Linked DNA regions of Homo sapiens: all the other regions are linked to region 3. The links are contacts of gene promoters, found by promoter capture Hi-C in blood cells and fetal thymus (Javierre and others, 2016). All regions are on one chromosome and are shown on one strand. The core of a region is centred on a gene start or on the middle of the fragment in contact, and the rest is flanking DNA. Distances in the headings are between cores, read along the strand shown. Region 1 holds the start of TSR2 (TSR2 ribosome maturation factor). Region 2 holds the start of GNL3L (G protein nucleolar 3 like). Region 3 holds the start of VCF2 (VCP nuclear cofactor family member 2). Region 4 has its middle 110 kb from the start of GNL3L.

Region 1 (6,520 bases), core at 90-2,589, 720 kb after region 3:
CCCCCCACGCACACACGCCCATACTCCAATACTGAGCTCCCTGCTACTTTCCAAATATAACACATTATACCCTCATGCCACAGAACTTGAGTGTTGCTCTCTCTGCTTCCCCCACCTAGTTAACTCCTTCTCACTAAGACCCAGCCCAATTCACCACCTCCACTAAGAAGCTGTCTCCCCATCCTGTTACCCCATGCACCCTGAGCTCCTCTTTATCAGAAAATCTATCAATGTTGTAACTATTTACGTGTGTGGATCCTCAATGGATAGTATACTTTCTTGAGAGAGATGACTCTGCCTAATGTCATCTCCAAAGCTAGAAATTGAATGAAGATTTTTTTAAAAACCATACTATGCAACAGGCCCTCTACTGGGCCTCTTGTTCTTGTATATCCCTCAAGACGAGCCTACAGTGTAGATCTTTGCTGTCCAAACAGCCACAGGTGGTTACTGAGCACTTGAAATATGGCTAGGCCAAATCGAAATGTGCTAAAACTGTAAAATACCAGATTTTGAAAACTTAATACTAAAAAATGTAAAATATCTCAATGTTTTATACTGACTACATGTTGAAATATTTCATACACACCGAGTTTACTAACATTGATTTCATCTGCTTTTTGCTTTATTAAAGTGGCTACTAAAAAATTTTAAATTATATGTGACTAGCATAATATTTCTACTGTACAGCGCTCTGGTGGATACTTTTATACGCATTTTAGAAACTAGGAAACTGAGTCTCAGGGAGGTAAACTGCCTTGTCCAGAGTAATCCCACGAGTCAGTGGTACAGCCCGTAAAGCACTGGAATCCAGGATTCTGATTCTAAAAGCTGAATTCATTCCACCTCACCTTTAGGTACCAATCCACAACTGCTCGAGAGGAAATGCAGGCTCTGCGGGATGGGGCTCCTCCTCTCCACACCCCCACACAGGCGGGTCGCGGCGCCTCACATTCACTCACCATTGCGCATGAAGTAATCCTCCACTGCACCCCCCAGCCACTTGGCCTTCTCCTGGCTGTGCACACCCCCGAAGCCATTCTCCACAGCGATCTGTAAACACAGGTCCAAGCCCACCAAGTCAGCTTGGGAGCAGACCTGGAGTAGCCTGGAGGCCGCTTACGCCGCCCAGCCAACTCCTCTTATGCCGCCTAGCCAAGCCTCAGGCACCTAGCCCAACCAACTCCTGTTCTGCCCCGGGCCCTAACCTTGACCTTGCCCTGGCCCTGGCCCCACTGACCTGCAAGGCCGGCCAGGCCTCCAGGGCCGCGCAGACCCCAGCCCGGAAAAGAGCTCGCGCATCTTCTGCAGCGCCCGCCATTATCCGGCCCCAGTCCACGTGACGTCCCGGCGGCCCAATCCCTCTGTAGCTCGGCCCAGGCAGAACGAGACGCAAGCCGAGCCTGAGAACACAGGATTCTCTTTTCCGCAGACCTGGCAGCAAGACTAGAGCAAAAGAAAAATCTGTCAGAGCGATCGATGACACCACCAGAGTTACTCACTTAAATCAAAGGACACCAGACCTGAAGGACGTGTGGGGCCATGGTTTCCGGATCCGTGGGTACTGCGGAGGAAATATGTGGGGAACTTATTACAGATACAGATTCCAGGCCCTGGGGCAGAGGACTCAGTGAGTATAGCCTTAAAAATCTGCATTTAAAAAAAGCATCCTAACATCTGTATAGAATACTGCAACCAACAACAGTAAAATACAATCAGCTCTCCCTATGGGGGGCAGTCCACGTCCGTGAATTCAACTAACCTCAGATGGAAAATATTCAGGAAAAAATTGCATCTGCATTGAACATGTGTATACTTTTTTTCTTGACATTATTCTCCTAAACAGTACAGTATAACAGCTATATACATAGCATTTACACTTTATTAGGCATTATAAGTAACCTGGAAATTATTTATTTATCTATTTTTTTGAGACCGAGTGTCACTCTGTGGCCCAGGCTGGAGTGCAGTGGCGCCATCTCGGCTGACTGCAACCTCCGTCTCCTGGTTTCAAGCAATTCTCGTGCCTCAGCCTCCCGAGTACCTGAGATTACAGGTGCCCACCACCACTCCCAGCTAATTTTTGTGTTTTTAGTAGAGACAGGGTTTCGCCATGTTGCCCAGGCTGGTCTCGAACTCCTGGGTTTAATCCACTTGCCTCAGCCTCCCAAATTGCTGGGATTATAGGCGTGAGTCACATCTGGAAATGATTTAAAGTATACAGTAGAATATTCATAGGTTATACGCAAATACTATGCCATTTTATATCAGGGACTTGAGCATCTATGAATTTTGGTATCCTCCGGAGGTCGTGGAACCAGTCTCCCACGGATACCCAGGGATAACTGTACATGTTTTTCTGAAGTACACAAGAACATTCTCCAGAACAGATCATACACTAGGCCATACAGTAGGCCTCCATAGATTTAACAGGATTGAACATACAAAGTATGTTGTCTGACCACAATGGAAAGAAGTTAAAAATCAGTAAAAAGAAACTTACAAAATTCACAAATATATGGAAATTAACACACTCCTAAGCAATAAATGGGTCAAAGAAAAAAATCACAAAGCAAATTAGAAAACACTTTTAAATGAATGAAAACAAAAACATAAAAAAATGCATGAGATGCAGCTAAAGCAAAACTTAGAGGGAAATCTTTAGCTGTAAACATGCATATCTAAAAAGAAGAGCCGGACATGGTGGCTCATGCCTGTAATCATAGCACTTTGGGAGGTTGATGCGGGAGGATGGCTTGAGCTCAGGAGTTCAAGACCAGCCTGGGCAACATAGTGAGACCCCATCTCTAAAAACAATTTTAAAAATTAGGCCAGGTGTGGTGGCTCACGCTTGTAATCACAGCACTTTGGGAGGCCAAGGCAGGCAGATCACTTGAGGTCAGGAGTTCGAGACCAGCCTGGCCAAGATGGTGAAACCCCGTCTCTACTAAAAATACAAAAATTAGCCAGGTCTGGTGGCAAGCACCTGTAATCCCAGCTACTTGGGAGGCTGAGGCAGGAGAATGGCTTGAACCCGGGAGGCGGAGGTTACAGTGAGCCGAGATGGTGCCATTGCACTCCAGCCTGGGAAACAGAGTGAGACTCTGTCTCAAACTAAATAAATAAATAAATTTGAAAACTAGGCCAGGCATGGTGGCTCACACCTATAATTCCCGCACTTTGGGTGGGCAGATCACCTGAGGTCAGGAGTTTGAGACCAGCATGGTCAATATGAACAAACCCTGTCTCTACTAAAAATGCAAAAGTTAGCCAGGCATGGTGACACACACCTGTAATCCCAGCTACTTGGGAGGCTGAAGCACGAGAATCGCTTGAACCCGGTAGGCAGAGGTTGCAGTGAGCTGAGATCACTCCACTGCACTCCAGCCTGGGCGACACAGTGAGACTCTGTCTCAAACAAACAAACGAACAAACAAAATTAGATGGGCATAGTGGCATATGCGTGTAGTACCAGCCACTCAGGAGGCTGAGGTGGGAGGATTGCTTGAGCCTGGGAGCTCAAGGCTGCAGTGAGCCGTGATTGTGCCACTGCACTCCAGCATGGGGGACAGAGCAAGACCCTGTCTCAAAAAAATAAAAAATGAAAGAATGATATCAAATTAATAACCTACACTTCCACTTCACAAAACCAGAAAAAGAAGAGCAAAGTAATCCCAAGGCAAGCATAAGAAAGGAAATAATAAATAATAGAACAGAAATAAATGAAATAGAGAATTGAAAAACAATAGAGAAAAGAAAAAACAGTGAAGCCAAAAGTCAGTTGTTGTTTTTTGTTTGTTTGTTTGTTTGTTTTGAGATGGAGTCTGGTGCTGTCACCCAGGCTGAAGTGCAGTGGTGCAATCTCAGCTCACTACAACCTCTGCCTCCCAGGTTCAAAGGAGTCTCCTGCCTCAGCCTCCAGAGTAGCTGGGATTACAGGCATATGCCACCATGCCCCGTTAATTTTTGTATTTTTAGTAGAGACAGGGTTTCACCATGTTGGCCAGGCTGGTCTTGAACTCCTGACCTCAAGTGAGCTGCCCACCTCAGCCTTCCCAAGTGTTTGGATTACAGGCGTGAGCCACCGGACCTGGGCGGTTATTTTTTTTTCAGAGATGAAGTCTTTTTTTGTTGCCCAGGCTGGAATGCAGTGGCACAAACATTGCTCACTGCAGCCTCAAACTCCTGGGCTCAAAGGATCCTCCTGCCTCTGCCTCCTGATTAGCTGGGACTACAGGAATAGGCCACCATGCCTGGCTAGTGTGTGTGTGTGTGTGTGTGTGTGGTTGTGTGTGTGTGTGTGTGTGTGTGTGTGTGTGTGTGTGTGTGTGTTGGGAGGGGGTGTCTCACTTTGTTGCCCAGGCTGGTCTTGAACTCCTGGTTTCAAGCGATCCACCTGCCTCGCCTCTCAAAATGCTGGGATTACAGGTGTGAGCAAATGCAACTGGCCAAGTCAGTTATTTGAAAAGATCAACAAAATTTACAAACCCTTAGCTAGACTGAGGAAGAAATAAAAGAAAGAAGACTCAAATTACTGAAATCAGGAACGAAAGAGGACGTATAATTACCGACCAGTCAAAAAAGACCACATATTGTATGATACCATTTATATGAAATATACAGAATAGGTAAATCTATAGAGACAGAAAATACATGAATGGTTGCCCAGGGCTTGGATGGGGAAAGAATAGAGTGTGACTTCTAAATGGCTTCAGGGCTACTTTTGGGGGTGTCGAAAATGTTCTAAAAATTAGACGAGGTAATGGTTGCTGTTATGAGCTAAATTGTATCCACCACCCCCCAAATTCATATGTAGAAACCCTAACCCCCAGTACCTCAGAATGTGACTGTATTGGGAGATAGAGCCTTTAAAAAGGTAATTAAGATAAAATGAGGTTGCATGGGTGGGCCCTAATCCGTTATGACTGATGTCCTTATAAAGAAGGGGAGATTAGAACTCGGTGCAATGGCTCAGATCACTTGAGGCCAGGAGTTCGAGACCATCCTGGGCAACAAAGCAAGACCCCCCATCTCTACAAAAAAATTTTTTTTTTAATTAGCTGAGTGTGATGGCTGTAGTCCCAGCTACTCAGGAGACTGAGGAGGGAGGATCACTTGAGTCCAGGAGGTTGAGGCTGCCGTGAGCCATGATTGTACCACTGCACTCCAGCATGAGTGACAGAACAAGCCCTGTCTCAAAAACAAAAAACAACAAAATATAATAATAAGAGGAGATGAGGACACAGGCAAAGAGGGACACCAGAGAGGTGTACACACAGGGACAACTATGTGAACACACAGTGAGAAAGCTAAGGAGAAAGCCAAGGAGCAAATCAGAAGAAACTATACTAAAAGCCATTGAATTGTACACTTTACTTATTTGTTGATTTATTGATGAAAGTATTTCCTTAAAATTAGAAATCTAATTTACAAATTACAAATTTTTAAAAACTGACAAATGTCACAAACATCTTCTAACCCAGAAAAATAAAATATTACTTTGTTGTTTTGTTTTTGTTTTGTAGATGCAAGGTTTCACCATGTTGGCCAGGCTGGTCTCAAACTCCTGACCTCAGGTGAGCCGCCTGCCTCAGCATCCCAAAGTGCTGGGATTACAGGCATGAGCCACCACGCCCTGCCAAAATAAAATATTCTTATTAATTACATGACTCACCTCTCTACTAATTTTTCTACATTTTTTGATATCAAAGAGTTTATAGAACTCTTCATATGACAAGTATTTTATATTTTCTAGAGAGAACACAAAGAATTCAATTGATTTCAATTCAGTTGAGTAAAATTTTTTATTATTAGTATTTTAGAAAAGTTTCAATTTCACAACTCATTATTAGTAATGTACATTTTAAGATTTTTGTCAAACTTGGGAAAATTTCTAGTTTCTTTTACATGTGAGCTGTAAGATTTCAGGTTATTTTAACTTCTCTTGGCACAGCGACAAATCTTAAACATTCTTCAAATAGACCAGGCTCAATAACCAGAGACCTGGAAGTGGCCTGTGCAAGTGTGGGGCCCTGATGCTTAAGATTGATTTGTTCTACGATAAATCTATCTCTGTGCAATGCCCAGGGAGAAAGGAGCACAGGGACTCATGGGAGTTCAGCAGAGGGTCCCTGACCCAGCCCTGGGGGCTGTGGCAGGCCTCTCGGAGGAGATGACACGTGAGCTGATTCTTAAAGTTTGAGTAGAATTTTGCTGGGTGATGGGGGAGTGTGTGTGTATGGGGGTGGAAGGTGTTACTGAAAGGAGGAAAGAGCCTTCTGTGCAGGGGAAAAATGTGTGCAAATACACAGAGGCAGGAAGCAACATGGTGTGTGATGATAATAAGAGCAGTTCCAGACTGAGAGAGAACCTCAGGGGCATAGCCTCCTCCGTAGCTCCAGAGACTCATTTTTTGTAGAGTCAGCAATGTAGATTGAGTTCAGAGAGGCCCAAATGAAGATATTGAAAACCTCAGTTGAAGTTCCCACAATCTGAGGCCTCAAACATACACAGAGAGAAT
Region 2 (6,382 bases), core at 3,707-6,206, 630 kb after region 3:
TGCACTCCAGCCCGGGTGACAGGGCGAGACTGCATCTCAAAAAATAAATAAATAAAAAATAAGACGGTAGAAATCTGACCAGACATAAACGTCTCATAACAAATGTGAATGGGTCGAATTTAAATAAACACAGTTTAAATAAACACGAAACAGACCACCAGTCTCCTTTCTTCTAAAGTACTCATGTTGCAACAACAACAACAAAAAAAATGTGAGGTTTGGAATGAACCAGGTCTGGACATTTCACTCAACAATTTCCATCTGCCTAACTTCCCTGGAAACTGAGTGCCTGCAATGGATACAAGCACACAGTGAAAGAAAACACATCACTTGGAGAGAAAAAGAATGTGCTTCAGAGGGGAGAAGAGAAGGGGGGAGGGAAAAAGGAGAAGGGGGTGCAGTCAGTCATCCCTCCCAGCACTCAGGAGCCTCTGCTCATAGGTTTTTCAACAACTCCAGAGAGAAAACAGCTACCATTTTATAACCAGCAGACATTCTTACTCTGGCTCAACAACTACCTAGCTATATGACCTTGAAGAATTTTTTAAAACCTCTCTGAGCCTCAATGCATCCACCAATATCATCTAGGCCTAAAATCACCAATTCATCAGTACTCAAAAGCAGATCTCTGTATTCGCTAATCCCTCATCTCCCATACTGTCACCCACAGATGTCCCTGTACACCCACTGACTTCATTCCCCTCATCCTTCCTCTGCCGTAGCATCAAATTTCCCACAACATTCTCTGAAACTCCCACCTGGGTGATCAGCACTCCCCTAACAACCTCTCCCTGGGATCAATTGTCCAAGCTCCTGCCTTGATACTTGGCTCTCCCAAGGACAATGCTTCACTTGCAGGCCTCTCAAAAGGTGGTTGTTGTTTTCACTGCCACACGTTTATCCGGGGGTCAGTAGGTAGAGAACGTAGCCCTCCAGACTCACCAGTGCCAAGCTGAGACTATTTTTCCCTCTTGTTAAAAAGAAAAAAAAAAAAAACCAGGTGTGGTAGCTCACGCCTGTAATCCCAGCACTTTGGGAAGCCAAGATGGGAGGATTGTTTGAGCTCAGCAGTTCAAGCCCAGCCTGGACAACATAGAAAGACCCTCATCTCTATTGAAAAAAAAAATTAGTGGGGCATAGTGGCAAATGCCTGCTTTCAGTTAGCAAATCTGAAGATCTTTCCATCTAATAGTCTTTCCACACAATACAGTTTTTCCATATAATCTTTCTATATGATACTACTTTATCTTTTAAACAGCCAGAATTCTTAAGTATGCATATATCCTACTTTATTTAACGAGGTAATTTTTGTCTTTTCCATCACTATCAATATTTCTATCATCTAGTATTAGATGTTCCTAAATAAAGTATAATTACCACCTTTCTTGTGTTACTTATAAATATGATTATTTGGTCGGGCATGGTGGTTCACGCCTGCAATTCCAGCACTTTGGGAGGCCAAGGCAGGCGGATCACTTGAGGTCAGGAGTTCAAGACCAGACTGGCCAACATGGCAAAACCCCGTCTCTACTGGTAACAAAGCAAGAGTCCATCTCAAAAAAACATAAAAAATAAAATAAAAGTATGATTATTTGCTTTTGGTATTAACAGTATGATTCTTGATGACATTTTTATGATTATATAAAAAATGTATTTTTTTCCCACCAAGCTGTCCACTGGCAGGGCCAGCATTCACACAGAAAACAGAGCACAATCCTCATCCAGCCTGCCCAGTGCCAGTGTGCTATCCAAATGTTATCATTTTCTTTTCTTTTTTTGTTTTGTTTTATTCCTTTTTTTTTTTTTTGAGACAGCGTCTCACTCTGTCGCCCAGACTGGAGTGCAGTGGCATGATCTTGGCTCACCACAACCTCTGCTTCCCAGGCTCAAGCGATTCTCCTGCCTCAGCCTCCCAAGCAGCTGGCATTACAGGCACGCTCTTAATCACTAGTACAACTTATGGTACCAACTGATAGAGAAAAATGTTAGGACATGTCGGGGTTACAGGCAGTGTGATATGTTTTTATCGCAATTCACCTCAGATCAAGTCACTTAACCTTGCTAAGCTTCAGTTTCCTCATCTGTAAATTGAGAATGGGGCATAATGGAAACATTCTCTTACAAGGAAGTCAGGAGGACAGCAATGATACCATATGAAAAAGATCCAGACTGAGTGATGTGAAACATATTCAACAGTTTTTAAAAGTTGCTGTGAAGGCTGGGCGCAGTGGCTCATGCCTGTAATCCCAGCACTTTGGGAGGCCGACGTAGGCAGATGACTTGCGGTCAGGAGTTCGAGACCAGCCTGGCCAACATGGTGAAACTCCGTCTCTACTAAAAATACAAAAAGTAGCCTGGCATGGTGGCACACACCTATAATCCCAGCTACTCGGTAGGCTGAGGCAGGAAATGCTTGAAACCGGGAGGCGGAGGTTGCAGTGAACTGAGATTGCACCACTGCACTCCAGCCTAGGTGACAGAGCGAGACTCCATCTCAAAACAAAAACCAAAAAAACAAAAAGTTGCTGTGAAATTCTATGAATATTCATTAAAAGCACAGGATTGGGAGGGGTGGTAAAGGAAACTCACTGTGTCTAAGTTTCATCATGATGACCAGCTTGAAAGCAGATAGGTTCAAATCTGCTTGCTCTCTTCCTGTCAGAATGGGAGAAGAAGCAATTTGAAGACAGCTGGGAATCACAATGCCACAAGCCCCCTCCTAAGTCCCCTAAAGGTAAAATGTTAAAGAACATTATGAGGAAGGCGTAATAATTAGGAAAACTGGGAGAAGCTGGAGCTAAAGCCTCATATGGCTGAGTCCACACAGAGAAGGCAGTGTCATACTACCCAAAGGGAGGAATAGGTCTCAACCTCATCCGGGGTGGAGTCAGTGGCTCAAAGCCACTGGGCTTTGAGCCCAGTGGGGTCAAATGGGGTCAGATGGGGTCTTTGGTCCTTATTCCTCCACACTGTAGTGTTATATTCTAGGTAGGGGACTAGTGCTCAACACCTCCACACTGAGGGGAAAGGGACATGCAAGGATGGTCTATTTCTATATGGGGTGATAATAGTGCCTCTTTTCCCAAGTAGGGGATTCTATATCTCATCTACCCTGGGAGAGGTGGTGGGGAAGGGCGTAAATAGATCTCAGGAGTCTACCCTGGGGAAAAGGGGCCTGAGAACAGGGATTCTTACCTGAGTGTCTATATGGATTGAGATAAGTACAAAATCTTGGAGGAGGGGGTAAAAATCTGTGCCTGCATATGCCTGGGGTCTATACCTTGGTGATTTGGGTTGGGGGGATTGCCATCTGTCCCTCTACTCTGGGGTGCAGAGAAACTGGGGAAACCCACAAAGTGGCTGTGTGCATCTCTGCTGCATGGGGAAAGAATCACAGATCTGTTTATCTCTAGATTGTGGGGATGGGTCCTGCGTCTCTTCACCCTGGAGAGGGCTGTGGTACAGGATCGATATGCCTGATTCCACAACTATGCAGCTTTGAATAAGCGGGTCTGCACCTTACCTGCAGTGAGCTATTCTGGACCCTTCTATGGAAGGTGGACTGTGACAACTTTCATCTTTTATGCTGGTTGAAGTCAGCGGCACACTAACACTGAAAGAAATAGGGGCTCTGGTTCTCTGCATGGGTGGTGTGTGGAGGGGGCTGGCAATGCAGCTATAAATTAATAGATCAGCCCTAATACTTGGGGGTGGGGGCGTCTGTGATTCTACCCTGGGTGGAGAGAAACAGATCTGAGCTCCACTACCTTGGGTAAAGGGGAGAGACCATACGCACTGAACTGCCAGGTAATCAGCGATGTCACTCCCTCTCAACATTACAGGGAGGGAGACCTGCATATCTGCTCCTGTGGGGTATCTCCCTTGCTACATTTAGTGATTCTAAATCTTTGGGGGAGGTAGGGGGAGGTAGGGGGATGATCTGTGTCTACCTCAAAGGGAGAGGAACACATCTGAGCCCCTCTACCCCCACGGCCCCTCAAGGGGCAGACCTGACTGTCTCTTCATGGATTAAGGTCTGTTCCTGTTTGCTTCGAAGCATGTTGGGTGCTTCGAAAAATTACACATTCGGTAAAACGGGGGCTACGGAAGTAGGGATCAGGTCTGATTCTCCACAATGGGGACTCACTCTAACCTAAGAGGAGGGGGCAATTGGCTTAGTTGTCCATAAGCTGAGGCCTGTAACTGCAACCACTTTGGGGACGGGTGAGTTGGGGAGCGATACTGAGGGCTCTGAGTCTACGCGTATGGGGAGGAGGTGCCCTCCCTCTGTATATTAAATGTTTCTAAGCTCCTCTATGCTGGTATGGGGGCAGATACATCAAAGCCTCTGTCTGTCCTGAGGAGGTGCCTCGAGACGGCTGTCTAGAGCCAAGCCAAGGAAGTGCCTTAAGTCGGGAGAAGTCTGCGCTGCTCAGCTGGGTGGAGGGAGATGTCTCTACACGGTTGGGGTGGATGTCCCCCATGCCTTTGGTGGGTCGACTCCTGTCTATACAAGGTGAATGCAGAATGAAGCCTCACTATCTTGAGGACGATCAACGCTTCACCACACAAGTGAAGTTTGTGCCTCTCTACACAGTGTGTCCCGGGTCTACACCTTTCTAGGTGGGATGGGGCAATGCCCCTCTCCCGGCAAACTCCACTCCGCGAAAAGGCAATTCGGCGCGTCTCCACGTGTGCCGCGATCCCTGCCCCTCTTCCGGTCCCTTCTACCCTGGAAGGGATCCTGCTGTTTACCTCTCTATTCCAGGTTGGCGGGCATCTCTGGTTTCACATCCAATAGACGATCCTAACTGCCCGGCCGTCTAGGTGAGCGCACATTGTGAGAAAAGAGGAGAGAAGTTTCTTACTTACACTTCCGGCGGGGATCTGAGAAGCGAGGGCAACACGACAACTCGGTTGAGCGAGCAGAAACTCTCGCGCAGCTAGGCTCCGACTTCCGGATCCCAGGCCGGCGGCGCCCGACTCCGCCCACCGTGCGGTCTCCGCGGGGGGGGGGGGGGGGGGGCGGAGCTTCTGACTGACAGCTCACGCCCGCCCGTCCCTTCTTCGCGACCACGCTGGCCCCGCCTCCTGCCTGCCCCGTAGTTAAGGAAATAGCGGAGGAGGGAGAAGGAGGACGGGGAAATGACCGGGAAGAAGCGGCGGGTCGACTGGTGCGGCCATATACCTTACTTGCAAGCCAAAATTTTGTCTGCGGGCATCTGTCTGGGGTTAAATATGCGTGCTCCCAAATCTCAATAACCAGGCAGTCACCACGCCCGAATCAGACAAGGGTGGGGGATGGTGTCTTTGTCTGCCTGGAAGATGGCGACAGCAGGGTGTGAGAAAATGGCCGCCTGGGTCACGTGTCTGGCCGAGTATTTCCCCACCTGAAGTGAATTGGTTAGCTATTCCCAACCACCTTCCCGGGTCCTTGAGCCCCAGACCATCCCTGAGCACTCCTAGCTTTTTCTGCATACGTTCAGATCTATGGCCATACCCAACCCGAGCTGGAGCAGGAGCCAGAACGACTAGAAGCCTCTCCCACACTAGAAGCCTCTCCCACCCTTTTGCCTTCTTCCCCTCCTACTCCATCCTTCCCTCAATCCCGGAGCAGCGTCTGCAGAAGGGAATGAATTTATATCTCTGGAGTGGGGCAAGTAGGGGTTTCTGAAGCCATCTCAAGGAGCTGGCTGGGAAGTGAGGTCTCCCCCACAAAATAGTAAATATTAGTCTGCAAATGTTTTCTTCTTGATGGTTTAATTCCAGCCCCTCCTCTTCCTCAAGCCTAAACCCTGGGGTGGGGCACAGAGTAGGTGGAACTCTGTGCCTCCGAGGGTGGGTTTGTTTCTCCACTTCAAGCACAGACGGGCTGAAAATGACTCCATCTGTCCCTTTATCCCTTACATAAACAGGACTCACTACCTCTCTACATCGTTGGAGGGCTTCTAACCTCTCATCCTAGAGACACATGAAATTCCTCTGGACCTGAAACCAGCCCTGACCACTTTCACCTTTCCCCCTGCATTTGCAATTTTGCTCTGTTTCTCTAAGACCTAACTCTTGTCACTTCGATGAAACCTTCTCTGACTTTCGCAGATGAGTTAGAAACCCAGAGCACCTTACCTATACAGCTAAGCTAGCACTTATCACAATACTGTAGTTGTTTATGTGACTGTGTCTCCACAGGAGGGTGAACTCCCTGAGAGCAGGGGCCATGTATCTTCAAGCTTTCAACAACACCCAGCACAAGACTGGTATGAGGCAGGCTTCAACAACTGTTTGTTAAATGGGTGAGTTTACAGGCCTGCACCACAAAAAATGGGAAATGGGCTGTTTAGTAGATGGCATTGGGAAATTTGGCTCTCCATGAAAAGAAATA
Region 3 (7,007 bases), core at 415-2,914:
AGTGAAGGGTGTTAAGGAAAAAAAATTATTCATGGCATTTGTTAAAGAACGGTAAGGCAGACTTCATTCAGGACCATCAAGATAGGTGTAGGGACCACTGCTATGGGGTTTTGCAGTGAAGGGAGAGAAACTGGGTTCCACTCCAAATACAACAACGAAAAGTGGAAATTTATAGCCAAGGAGCAGGGTGGGGAGCAATGGACGGAAAATTACTAAGAGGAAACACCACGGGTAAGGGGGTATTGTGGCTAAATTGAACTAACAGGATTGTTGGTGAAGGTGGGCCAGGGTGACTAGACATCACCTGGGGGATGAGGAACCTAACTGAGATATTGATGATGGGAAATTCTAACTAAACTGACTTAGCAGGATTCTTGTTAAAATTGCACAATGCAGCGACAAACATGGCAGTCTAAAAGTCCCCTGTCCAGGGCTGTCTACTCCACAGCCTCGGCTGCAGGGTCACCTAGCCCCTAGCTGGGTTAGGCTTCCTTTATGGCATGATCTTTAGTTCTTGAATCAGCCACTTTCCACATCTTCCCTTCCATCCTCAGGGAATGCAGCCCCCTGTGAGATCACCTACTTAACAGCAAGAACCAGGATCAGCCTAAACTCTAGCACTCCCTTTGCCAACTTTTTAGATAATAAATACAGATAGAGGAACATGATAATTCAGGAGAAAGCATAACTGCAAAGGATGATCCCTTAAGAAGGTGGAAGGCATAGGATCCAGGTGAAGGGCCTGGTCTCAAGTAGGATCCTGTCTCTTCCTCCAGGGAAGCAGCCAAGATTATAAGTGCAGGTCTACTGCTGTTGGGAAGTGGTGTGAATTCTTCTCTGATTGCTTCTATTTTCTCAAGGGAATATCAGTGAATATCATGAGAAAATTGGGTGCTGGTGCTTGTGGAGGGATCTTGTAAGTAGACTAGACAGAGAAGGTACACTTGTGGAGGGTGTACATTGTTTGTCTACTTGGCGGCGGGGGGACTGCCAGGAGAGTAGGGAGGAGAGAGTTAATAGCTTTGGGTAAGCTGGCTAAGGAAGGTGAATGGTGAGGAACGCGGTTGTGGTTAGTGGAGAGGAGGCCTCCTTGAGGCTAAAGGCTGTGGATGCTGGGGCACTGGAAGAGGTAGCTGTTAGGACACGATCGGGTGCTGCCCGTTATGAGAATGGGGGATGCAAGAAATGGACATCGTGGAGGGGCGCGGTCTTTCCTGAGGCCCAGGGCATGACCGCGGGCAGAAGAGACTTAAGTGGGGGGAAGGAGACCCCCCCGAGGACGGAGAGGCGCCGGCCACGGCCTGGTCAGCCCCGGGGGCGCTGAGGTCGCCGAGGAGGATCAGCGGTGTGAGGGCTGCGAGGACAGGGCGTGTGCCACGTGAGAAGCGTGTTCAGAGGCTGGCTGGGTGGGAGGAGAATGTCCATGGGATTGGCACAGGTCTCGAACATGGGGCGGCTCGGGCAGTCGCGCAGCAGAGCCTGACCCTCAGCGGATCGTCCCTCAGGCGTCAGCTCCCAACTGCAGGGAAGGGAGCCTGCGGCGGACCCAGAGGAAACAGGAGCCGACCTCCCCGGGCTCCGATGCGCAGGCCCAGAGCCCGTCAATCCTTGGCCAGCCCCGCCCTCCGGGCTGCGTTTTTCCGGCGGCGCAGGAACTTCCTGCGCGGTTGCTATGGTTCCGAGGGCAGGACTATGGGAGGCTGCCCTGTACGGTAAGTTCGTCGGGGCCTTTCCGGCCGGTACCAGTCCGAGCTCTGGTCCCCACGGTCATCACGCTTTGCTTTCTCAGCCAAGATCTCGGGGCTCAGGGCGGAAACGCAGCGGATATGTATTTTCTTCCGGGGTTGGTGGCGCTCGGCTCTCATGACCTGCAGGTGACAGTGTTGGCCGGTGGCGCGGCCCTGCTTGCCTCGTGCCCCGCCCTTCGTGCTTGAAAAAAAATCCCGCGAAGCCTTCTCCGAAAGAACATGCTGGTTCTTTGGTTGTCAGTGCCTTACAAGCCCTGGAGGCGGGGGTGAGGTGGGGATGTGGTCCCTCGCGAAAACTCAGTCAGTGGACAATAGCATTCTGTTTTTCAAATTGGCATTTCCTCGGTGAGGCTGCTAGGTACCCTAGCAACTGGTATTTCTGTTTCTCTGATTGGTTTTGTCATCTTTCTCCACGTGTTACTGGGGTTCTATGGACCTTTATCAATGTATTCTTTCATTACAAACGTCTCTGAATCTCATGGTAGAAAACTTGGTTAGACTGTTAAAGCGTAATAAAGGAAACCAATCTTATCCACAGTCCGATCACCCAGCCGTGACCATTAATCATATTCTGTGATAAATTTCCTTAGATGTTTTTCATTCGTAAAGTTGCATTTTAAAAAATGAGATTAACATTGTTTCATGAACATTCCGCTTTTTAAACTCAGCTTCACACTTTGAAAAATCATTTTCATAGTATTACTCTGTTTTAAAAACAATGCAAACGTATTGTAAGCTGTTGAAAGTTTCAGTAAAACTTGAGCGCAAAATACTCAAATACTCAAAATACCATGATCAAAGACAAACATCACCATGCTCCCTAATGAAGGCAGAGCTGTGGCATGTGTTTGTTTCACTCTTTTATCCTGGCACCTGGAGGAGTGCCTAGCACTTAGTGGATGCTCAATAAACATTGTGAAATAAAATAATATTTACACCCGGTCATTTTTTCTTTATATATAATCAATCATTTCATAATGGAGTGTAATATAGGAGCAGTTTTCTACGTGATTTTTTATTTGGCATTTTGTACTCAGTACTCAGTCTCCTAGAGTCTCCTAGTACTCAGTCTCCTAGAGATGAGAATTGATTAAAGAGTAATGAAATTATAAAAATGAGTAAACTCAGCCATTCTTAGGAGTACCAAAAACTCAAAAGTAAGTCTCTAAGCAAATGTCTGGTTAATAATAGAGTGCTGTGAAAACTATGTCAAACGCTGCAATCTGATTACTTATTGACAAGGAACTTGAAACTGAAGATGTAATCTTACCAATCATTGAAAACAATTTTGAGAAAAGAATGTTTCAAGGAAGTAATCAGCCACAATCTCATGGTGACAATCTAGTGGAGTAACTATGTCATAATATTAGCTGGTATAGCAACAGTAAGTGCCTAACCACATTCAGCATACAAGAAATATCTCTTCAGTGTCGCTACACCACTGGCATAAGAACTTAAGAGTAGACACTGGCAGACACACATGTCTTACGATCTTATTGAAGGAGTTAAAAATCACTTACCCTGGAATTGTAACTTCATGGAGTCAAAACAATGAAACTAATTAGGTAGATTTTGAAAACTTAGCTATTAAATTCCTCATATTCTTTATTTTCAAGGATCATTTAAGGTTATGAAAATTATTTCTAGAAATGAAATGCACAGCTTGGCTTTACTTAGAGTTCTTGTATTACATTTTTTTATCTTCATGCCTGGTAATGGAGTACTTATATGACTTTTATATCTTGGGATAGCAGATAGTGACATTTTTTCAGACAAGTTCTCATATATGTATGTTGTCACGGCTTTACAATTTAAGCATCCAAAAGATCAGTTGTTTCATGTAACAACTCTCTCTTTACAATTTATTTTCAGGAAAAGAAGAAGAAATGGCAGTAAAGAGGGCAACCATCATTCCACCCAGCCCAAAAGGAATAAGAGAAACCCTATCTTTCAGGATTCTCAAGATACAGAGGTAGCAAGTATGGTCAGATTGCCTCTATTTCATTCATTGCCTACACTAAATTATCCAATTTGTGCTCCATAATGAAAAGAAATGTATTATTCCAAGAAACCTTCATAAAAGTTTTCTTGCTTGATTACAGTGGCTTTTGAGCTGGAGCTTTAAATTATGATATAGTATCTCACAGAAAATGGAAAAGAAGCACAGAAAAACTTTGCTAAACATAATCAGGAGGAATTAGCCCCTGTAATTTTGTCCCCTCATATGAGCAGGGAATAGTAGTCTTACTTCCCTTCTTTTTATATGGAAAACATATTTTCTAGTACATAGTGATATGTTATTAGCTGGAAGGCAAGTCTTGCTTTCTCAGTGAAAAAAAGTGAAAAATTTGGGGCAGTCTCATGATTTTTGCAAAACTTTAATGGTGCTGGAAAAAGAGTTTGAAGTTTTTAATTTTTTATTGATATAGAATAGTTGTACATATTTTGGGGGTACATGTGATATTTTGATACCTGTATATAATGTGTAATGACCAAATCAGGGTAATTGGGCTACCCATCACCTCAAACATACATCTTTTCTTTGTGTTGGGAACTTATAAATCTTCTCTTCTATTTTGAAATATACAATAAATTATTGTTAACTGTAATTTTCCTACTGTACTGTTGAATTCTATAACTTATTCCTTCTATCTAACTGTATTTTATACCCCTTAGCCAACTTCTTTTCATCCCCCCTTCCTCTCTTCTAAACCTCTAGTAACCACCATTCTAAGGAGCTTGAATTTTAACTTCAAGGTGCTTCACTTTAATAACTTGTATTCATTAGCATAATATAGCTTTAATTGAGATATAATTACTAGTGGAGTGTTAAAGGAACCTCATAAAGTCTTTCTGAGTTAATCCTCTTAGTTAATAACTAAGTATGGCTCACCTTGCCCTCTTTTGAGCAAGATGAGAAAAGATTATCAATCCAGGTCCTCTTCTTGGTACCTACCTATACACAGGTATGATTATCCAAGATTGTGGGCAGCTACTTGGATGGGTAAAACATAACTAGATTTAACTTATATAATTTGTTCTCTTAGGTGCTGGGGGATTTTTGTTGGATATGTTTGCACATATAGGAATATTTTCTTTCAACCATACATCTTACAAATTATACCACCACTTTCCCTGTAAAAACCCTAGTACATAGGTATAAGACTTACAGAAAGTACAAACACAAAGAGCCGAACATTTCTGTACAAGTGTGTCTAACTTGCCAGGAACATTCATTTTACCTTTCAGATTACTGAGTAGTACAAGAAATTAAGAGTGGAATATTATGTAGATATACACACAAGTGGCTTATCTGGAGCAGATCTCTGCCTTTTTCTCTTCCCTACTGTATAGAGTAGGAAAAGATTTTGTGCCCTAATGCTACAATTCCAAGGGGGCAGCAGAAATAAGACAAATGAGAGAAAAACAGAACTAGGAGGCCCCAAATACATTTAAAATTAGAGGTCTATGAATCCTGTTATTTTTCAGCTGATAGGAAATCTCCCCTTGTCAGGTTATCATTTTAAGTAATATCAATTCAGATGACAACTGGGGCATTTTTGTTTTTTTGAGACAGTCTCACTGGGTCACCCAGGCTGGAGGTGCAGTGGCACGATCTCGGCTCACTGCACCCCCACCTCCCGGGTTCAAGCGATTCTGGTGCTTCAGCCTCCGGAATAGCTGGGATTACAGGCATGCACCACCATGGCCGGCTAGTTTTCGTATTTTTAGTAGAGGTGGGGTTTTTCCATGTTGGCCGGGCTGTTCTCGAACTCCTGGCCTCAAGTGATCCGCCCGCCTCGGCCTCCCAAAGTGCTGGGATTACAGGCATCAGCCACCACGCCCCGGCTTTGGTGAAATTTTTTGAAGAACATTTTCTCTTAGGTTCTTAGTAGTTTGGAGTCATTCTCATCACGTTTGATCACATAAATTCTAAGAGACAGAACTACTTTGGGAAACATTTTTGGGGATGAAATCGTTGTTGAACAATGTAATGGTCATCAGATGTGGTTTTAAACCCTATGGCAAAATGGGAACCTTCTGAAATTAGCTTCTACTTAAAGATACATTCAAAATGGAGGAACAAGCTTTTTCAAAGATGGCCTAATCTATTTTGTACATTTTAAGAAGCCGTGTTCATGGAGCATACTAAACATCCCAAGCACTTTCATATTGCAATTGAATCTTACAATCTCAGTTGTTTTAATGAATTGAATATGTCCACATGTTTTTCTGCAGGTGAGGATTACCTATCAGTCTTTTTTTTTTCATTTTTGTTTGTTCAAATCCCATTTACTGAATTGAAACAAGGTGAGTTGTATAGATTTTTAAATAGTTGTATAGATTCTATTATAAATTTAATTTTTGAGCTGGAAAATAACTTACAACTCAGTGTCTGTTCTAACTTCATCTTAGGAGGGAAACTAAGCTACAAAAAGCATTGATTATTTACCCCATCAGCACAGAGAAGTTAACACATGAATATCATTACCTTGCTAATTTGGAAAGTGGTTGTAATTCAACAACCTAATTAATTTTGTATTTTACAATTCATAAGATTCCACAATGTTTCTAGTATTAGAGAATGTGTACACGTCATTTTAAATGCCTTGGAACTTTGGGAGCACATATTTTAAGTGCCCTCTGATGGATTTGGTTAGGATCATCTGTTTTACTTACTCAAGTTTCTACAGGTGCCTTTGAATAAGCATCATATTATTATTCCAGGGATAGACTATGTATTAGGAGTGAATGTTTTGTTGTGGAGGTTCACATAAAGGAAAAGCTGTAAGGCATGGAGGGATGGAATTGAGAGGAAAGCTAGGGCTTGAAAGAAAGTAAAATACTGGGCCAGGCGCAGTGGCTCACGCCTGTAATCCCAGCACTTTGGGAGGCCAAGGCGGGTGGATCATGAGGTCAGGAGTTCAAGACTAGCCTGGCCAATATGGTGAAACCCCACCTCTACTAAAGAAATACAAAAATTAGCCAGGCTTGGTGGCGCGCACCTGTAGTCCCAGCTACTCGGGAGGCTGAGGCAGGAGAATCGCTTGAACCCGGGAGGCGGAGGTTTCAGTGAGCCAAGATCGTGCCACTGCACTCTAGCACTCTAGCCTGGGTGACAGAGTGCGACTTCCTCTCAAAAAAAAAAAAAAAAAAAAGAAGAAGAAGAAAGTAAAATACTGGGTTCATCTGCTTTTATCATTAAAAAGTGTTATATAATTTTATATCATGAATACATGCATGAATTTCTGCTCTGTT
Region 4 (6,447 bases), core at 2,583-5,082, 520 kb after region 3:
TCAAGGAGCTCTGAGGATAGTAAAAGGTAAAAGGCAAACTGAGCCATGAGAAATCCACAGATAGGGAGCTCTGGGAGTTCAGAGAAGGGCAAAAACTGTTGTTTATCCGTATGTATGCCTGTCTCCTGGATACCTCCCTTTAGATGTCCCAAAGGCACCTCGAACTAAATGTATTTAAAACTGATCTCATCTGCTCCCTCCCAAACCTGTTCCTCTTCTCAGATTCCCTGTCTCAGTGAGGCAAGTTCATCCAACCCAGTTGCTCAAGCTTGAAACCTGAGCTGCACCCGCTCACAATGTCAGCTGTTGCAGTTGCTAAAGTTGTCCCCGAACCTTTGGTGTGTGTTTGCCTTGCCCCAAAGGTCAGAACTAATAATAAACTTCTGCATTGCTGCAGGATACGGAAATTAAAACCAGCCTGGAGACAGACAAGACCCGGAGTCCACCAGGTTTGATTTCGGACTTGGCTTCTGATGTCAACGGGTATGATCCCTTTCAGGAAAGCGGGTCGACAAGAGCCTAAAACATGTTTATGACATTTTCCTGGTAATTCTGCTCCTAAATCGATATCCACCCACCCCTACTCCTACAGGAAAAGCTCTAAGCACAAAATTATTCCTTGCAGAGATATATTTTGGTGGTCAAACACTAGAAAGTAGTTTTAATATCCAACAAGAGAAGGGTTAAGTGAATTGTGGCACAGCTGTCTAATGGAACATTCTACAACCATTGCTGAGAGATGACGGCTGTGGAGATTCTATAGCAACAGAGAAAAATTATTATGCCATAACTAAGGATGCAGGGTTGTGTGTACACTCTGACTGCAACAACCTAAAAACTGCATGGCCTCAAGCTCTGCTGATGGACATTTAAAATTTCTCCTCTATTATTACTTTTTAAAAAGGCCTTAACTTTATGTCATGTATGGGTATCTCTGGGTTTGGGGTTTTTGGCTTGTTGTTTTCGTTTTTTCAGTCTTTTCCTTCCGTCAATCAACCGCCTTAAAAATGTGTCTTCTTTGTACCAGGCCCTCCCCGAGGTGCTGGTGATTCAAAGGTCAATCACCCACAACTCTTTCTCTGGGATGTCAGGGCAGAAGAGGAAACAGATACAAAAATAAACAGTTTCAAAAATATATGGGCCAGTCTTTATGGGCCCACTTGTGGACGTACGCAGGCACGGTCACCCCCTGGCGGCCACTCGACTACCAGCTCTTGGGTGGCTCTAACCTCTGGACAGCGGCTTCCACTCTCGGTGGCCAGCCCCAGCCTCGTTCTCCGAGAGAGTCCAAGACTCCTCCCTCTCCCTCCTTCTGGGGCCCTCCATCCCCTAGTAGGCGTCTCAGCCTGGGCCTGGCCCAGACAAATCCGACCCTGTTACTCTCACCGGAGCTCCTCCCTCCCCGAAAGCCTCACTCCGGCTGTGAGCTGCAAGATTACGTCATTGTCAATGGTTCGCATGCGCCCTCACCACTGGACAATTGGCGCACCCCTGCCGCAGGCGGGCGTAGCTTCGGGCTCCGGGGTTCTCCCTTTTCCTTTCCTGATGTTTTTTTTAAAGTGGCGACACACTACTTGTAAGAGACGCTGGTAAACTCGTGGCTTTAGGAGGAAATGGGAGCCAAGAAAAGCTGCAAAGCTCAAGGCTCACGACCGCTTGCTCGCCATTGTCCCACTCACTTCCGAAAGAGATAACGCCCCTTTCCGACTCTTTTGGCCTCCCCGCTCCAAGAGTGAGAATCGAAGCCCCGCCCCGTGAGCGTCTAGTCCCAAGATAACCCAGCTGCGCTTGCGAGTGCAAGTACACTGGGGCGGGGCTGACAGGAGGCTGATGCAATCGAGTCGGGCGGGCGGGGCACGTCGGATGAAAGTGGGTACCGGAAGAAAAGGGGTTATTTCAGCAGGCTTAGTAACCCTATTCAAAGTAAGACCTTAATATATAAGTAAAAGTTCGTGCCTGATTTGGAGAGCTCTTTGACTATTAAATTTTTTTTAATGTAACGCCTGTAATCCCAGCACTTTGGGAGGCCAAGGTGGGTGGATCACTTGAGTCCATGAGTTTGAGACCAGCATGGGCAACACAGTGAGACCCTCCCTCTCTATTTTATTTTAAAAAACATTATTTTAAAGGTATATATCCTATTGGCTCAGCAATCCCATTTCCATATATATACATCCAAGACTCCTAGAGAAGTGTATGCGGATCACCTACAGGGCTTTGTTAAAACACAGATTGTTGTGGCCCATCTACTATCAGAGATTAGGAACTTGTGTTTCTAACAACTTCCAGGGTAATGCTGGGGCAAACTGGTTCAAGACCACACTTTAAGAACCTTAGATCTAGAGGACAAAAAACTGCAAGGAGCCTTATGAACAAGTGTAAGCCGTGCTGATTTGTTGGCAATAACGAAAAATTGAAAGTATCAGTGGGGGCAGGAGATGGTTGATAAACTTATCAGTTTAAAATGGGCTATATATAGGCCGGGCATGGTGGCTGACGGCTGTAATGCCAATACTTTGAGAGGCCGAGGTGGGTGGATCACCTGAGGTCAGAAGTTCGAGACCAGCATGGTGAAACCCCGTCTCTACTAAAAATACAAAAATTAGCCAGGCGCCTGTAATCCCAGCTACTCAGAAGGCTGAAGCAGGAGAAACGCTTGAACCCGGGAGGCGGAGGTTGCAGTGGGCCGGAGATTGCGCCACTGCACTCCAGCCTGGGCAACAGAGCCAGACTATCTCAATTAATTAATTAATTAATTTAATGAGCTATATATAAACTGACATGGAAAGATATCGAAGGTGATGATGATAGTAGTGAGGGTGGTGATGATGATACTTAATGTTTATTGAGCACTTACACTGTATCAGGCACTGTGTGAAGGATTTTACATTTCTTACCTCATTTTCTACAGCAATTCTCAGGAATGTGGACTGTGTCTAATTCGCTGTATATTTTTAGTCCAGAACAGGGTCTGGCACCCAGGATCTTGTCAGTAAATGTTTGTGGCCTCATGTGATCAGATCCAGTCCCACAAGTTCACAGTCCCAAGAGTTTAGGACTTCACAGCCCAAACAATATTTCAAAAAATTGCAAAGGATGGATAAAATATTGCGGAAGAAGGACACTAAAAACAAACTACTGCCTTCTATCACCATCATTTTAAGAAAAGACAATTACACATAATCCCCCATTAAAGGAACGAACTTTTTAATTTATCTTTAATATGAAAATTTTTAACATATGCAAAAGTAGAAAGAAGAGTAAATGAACCCCCAAGTACCTCTCACCCAGCTTCTCAATTATCACCTCCTGGCCAAGCATCTTACATCTCAAACCCCAACACACATCGTATCCCAGATTACTTTGAAGCAAATGCTAGACGCCATTTTCTCCATAAATATTTGAGTTCATGTGTTTAAAATATAAGAACTCTTTTATAATAATAACCATAATACCACAGAATATCTAAAAATTTAAGAATAATTTCCTAATATTATAAAATATCCAAGTATTTACATTTCCCTGATTTATACATATCTTTTGCAGTTTTGCACAAATTAGCAAGTAAATAAGATAAAGCAGAGGCCTTTAAATCAAATATACACTACAGTGTCCTTTTTATCTTCATTTTACTGCAGATTGGCAAAAACTATATCAGGCCCTTGCACAAGATGACAGACCAGTATTGGGAACTACTGGCATAACATTCATTCAAAAGTAGATAGTGAGATATATATGTGTGTGTGTGTGCATGCACATGTGTGCACACATGTGTGTATATGTGTGTATACATACAAACTGCAAAATATATATGTGTGTATACACACACACAGCCTGACACTTCTAGCGGTACACAAGGGTAAATAAGACAGATGCAGTCCCTGTACTCCTGGAGCCAACATTCTACTGAGAGAAACAGACAATTACCAAGTCAAGAAATACATTTGGAATTTAATTTCGGGGTCATAATATGTACAATGAAAAAAATAAAGAAGGAAGATAAGGCAGTAGAAAATGATGGAGGCAGTAGTACATTGGCAAAATGGTGAAGTAGGCAGCTCCAAGCTCTTGTTCCCCTACAGAAACTGATAATCAAGCAGAAACTGACAGAACCAACTTTCTCAAAACTCTGGAAAACAATGAAAAGTTTATAGCAACCAAGCAAATGCTGAATAAAGAAAAAGGCAATAACAGATGCCAGTGAGGTTGCAGAGAAAAGGGAACACTTATACACTTATGGTGGAAATGTAAATTAGTTCAGCCACTGTGGAAAGCAGTGTGATTTCTCAAAGAACTTAAAACAGAGCTACCATTTGACTGAGCAATCCCATTACTGGAAGTCTCATATACCCAAAGGAAAATAAACCATTCTACTAAAAAGACACATGCATGTGTATGTTCATCACAGTGCTATTCACAATAGCAAAGATACAGAATCAACCTAGATGCCCATCAACAGTGGATTGGATAAAGAAAATGTGATACATATATACTGTGGAATACTGTGCAGCCATAAAAAAGAATGAAATCATGTCTTTTGCAGCAATATGAATGCAGCTTGAGGTCATCATCCTAAGCAAATTAACACAGGAACAGGGAACCAAATACCACATCTCACTTATAAGTGGGAGCTAAACATTGAGTACACATGGACATAAAAATGGGAACAATAGACACTGGGGACTACTAGAGGTGGGAGGGGGAGGGGGCCAGGGTTGAAAAACTACCTATTGTATACTATGCTCACTACCTGGGTGATGGGATCATTTGTACACCAAACTTCAGTGACATGCAACTTACCCATGTAACAAATTTGCATATGTACTCTCTGAACCTAAAATAAAAGTTGAAAAAAAGAAAGATAAAGGCAACTTCAAAATGGTAAGAAAGTTTTATGGCATATTTACTTGCTCTTGCCCCACCTCCTCTCCAGTGCAGTCATGGTCTTGAATAGGAAAGTCCACATTCTCCTGCGGGAAACTTGTTCCTGATCCTGGAGGAAACAGAGCAGACCTTATTTGCATATTGTTGTGTATGTATGTTCTAACCTGCCTTGGGGCTAAAAGACTGACATAAAGTATTCATCTGTGTTTCACTTCACTCAGAACTGAGGCTATAAAATGGCAAGCTCAAAATCAATGCAAGAAAAAATGAGCAATATGCAGATCTCAGGGGAAAAGATTATGATCAAAACAAAACAGACCACCTAAGGACTGAGAGCAAGAGCTGGGGAGAGTTTATTTGAGAAATTCGGACATTCAAAAGAAGCCACATATATGGGGAGATTTAGAAAGCCATGTGCATGCTCCACACAAGACACATCCTCAGAAAAACAACATGTGAAAACTCTAATGTTTCACCACTGGCTGAGTCCTATGCTTAGTGCAAGCCTAGTTAGGTGTTGAAAAAAAATGCCCTAGAACAAAATGATTCTGCAAGGATGAGGTGGGGGAGGTAATTTTTGTTTGTTTGATTGATTTTTTTTTTTTTTTTAGTTCCTGACATTCAAGGAAATCCTATCAAAACACTAGCTGAGCACAAACTGAAAAACAGAAATATCAATGACTACACACACAAAAAAACGGTCTTCCTAAAAGTACTTTGGGAAAGTCACTAAACAAATGGACTACTATAGCCTTCACATAAATTAAATAAACAGCGAACTCAGAGGAAAAAGGAGAATTTAATGTACCCCCTTAACATTTTATGATATTCAAACATATAGCTTTCAACAAAAAATATCACAAAACATACAAAGAAATAGGAAATTATGGCCCATTTACAGAAACAAACTAAATTGACAGAAACTATTCCTGAGGAAGTCCAGACATCAAATTTAATAGACAAACACTTTAAAACAATTGACTTAAATATGCTCACAGAACTAAAGGAAAACATGAACAAATAACTAAAGGAAATTAGGAATATGACGTATGAGCAAAATTAGAATATCAATTTAAAAGACAGAGCATAAAAAGGAACCAAACAGAAATTTTGGAGCTGAAAAGTACAATGATTGAAATGAAAAATTGACTAGAGGTATTGAACAGCAGATCTAAGATGGCACAATAAAGAATCAGTGAACTTAAGGATAGGATAATCGAAATTATCAAGTCTGAGGAGAAAAGAAAGAATTGGCCAGGCACAGTGGCTCATGCTTGTAATCCCAGCACTTTGGGAGGCCGAGATGGGTGGATCACTTGATGTCAGGAGTTCAAGACCAGCCTGGCCAACACGGCAAAACCCTGTCTCTACTAAAAATACAAAAATTAGCTTGGCATGGTGGCGGGCACCTGTAATCCCAGCTACTCAGGAGGCTGAGGCAGGAGAATCGCTTGAACCCCCAGGAGGCAGAGGTTGTAGTGAGCCGAGATCATGCCACTGCACTCCAGCCTGCGTGACAGAGCGAGACTCCATCTCAAAAAAAAAAAAAAAAAAAAGAGCCGG

What was found. Contacts are between HindIII fragments. The CHiCAGO score rates a contact against its expected background, and 5 or more counts as called.
Region 1: a contact is called between the fragment with the promoter of TSR2 here and the fragment with the promoter of VCF2 in region 3, in 7 of 17 cell types (monocytes, naive CD8 T cells, fetal thymus and 4 more). The highest score is 8.0, in monocytes.
Region 2: a contact is called between the fragment with the promoter of GNL3L here and the fragment with the promoter of VCF2 in region 3, in 12 of 17 cell types (monocytes, total B cells, activated CD4 T cells and 9 more). The highest score is 20.5, in monocytes.
Region 4: a fragment that was not itself captured here is called in contact with the fragment with the promoter of VCF2 in region 3 in 1 of 17 cell types (monocytes); the score reaches 5.4 in monocytes.

Annotation. Positions count from the first base shown.
Region 1 is chrX:54,435,223-54,441,742 of GRCh38, reverse strand. It overlaps TSR2 (TSR2 ribosome maturation factor), which reads right to left and starts at 1,339. Exons shown (of 5, transcript NM_058163.3): 1 at 1,241-1,339; 2 at 963-1,053. The coding sequence starts at 1,321. RefSeq lists an enhancer at 1,572-1,621. The HindIII fragment of the contact is 25,574 bases long and covers 1-6,520 here.
Region 2 is chrX:54,528,793-54,535,174 of GRCh38, reverse strand. It overlaps GNL3L (G protein nucleolar 3 like), which reads right to left and starts at 4,956. Exons shown (of 16, transcript NM_001184819.2): 1 at 4,756-4,956; 2 at 2,590-2,655. The coding sequence starts at 2,608. RefSeq lists enhancers at 4,551-4,810, 4,821-4,880, 5,331-5,380, 5,035-5,555. The HindIII fragment of the contact is 4,164 bases long and covers 2,069-6,232 here.
Region 3 is chrX:55,155,842-55,162,848 of GRCh38, reverse strand. VCF2 (VCP nuclear cofactor family member 2) reads left to right here and starts at 1,664. Exons shown (of 3, transcript NM_001166701.4): 1 at 1,664-1,712; 2 at 3,621-3,720. The coding sequence starts at 1,693. RefSeq lists enhancers at 875-1,375, 1,376-1,876, 1,702-2,001. The HindIII fragment of the contact is 5,872 bases long and covers 1-5,838 here.
Region 4 is chrX:54,634,781-54,641,227 of GRCh38, reverse strand. It overlaps a transcript of GNL3L not described here. Among named protein-coding and RNA genes, the nearest start is that of GNL3L, 110 kb to the right of the region's middle. RefSeq lists enhancers at 1,284-1,533, 1,824-1,953, 1,520-2,045. The HindIII fragment of the contact is 7,123 bases long and covers 271-6,447 here.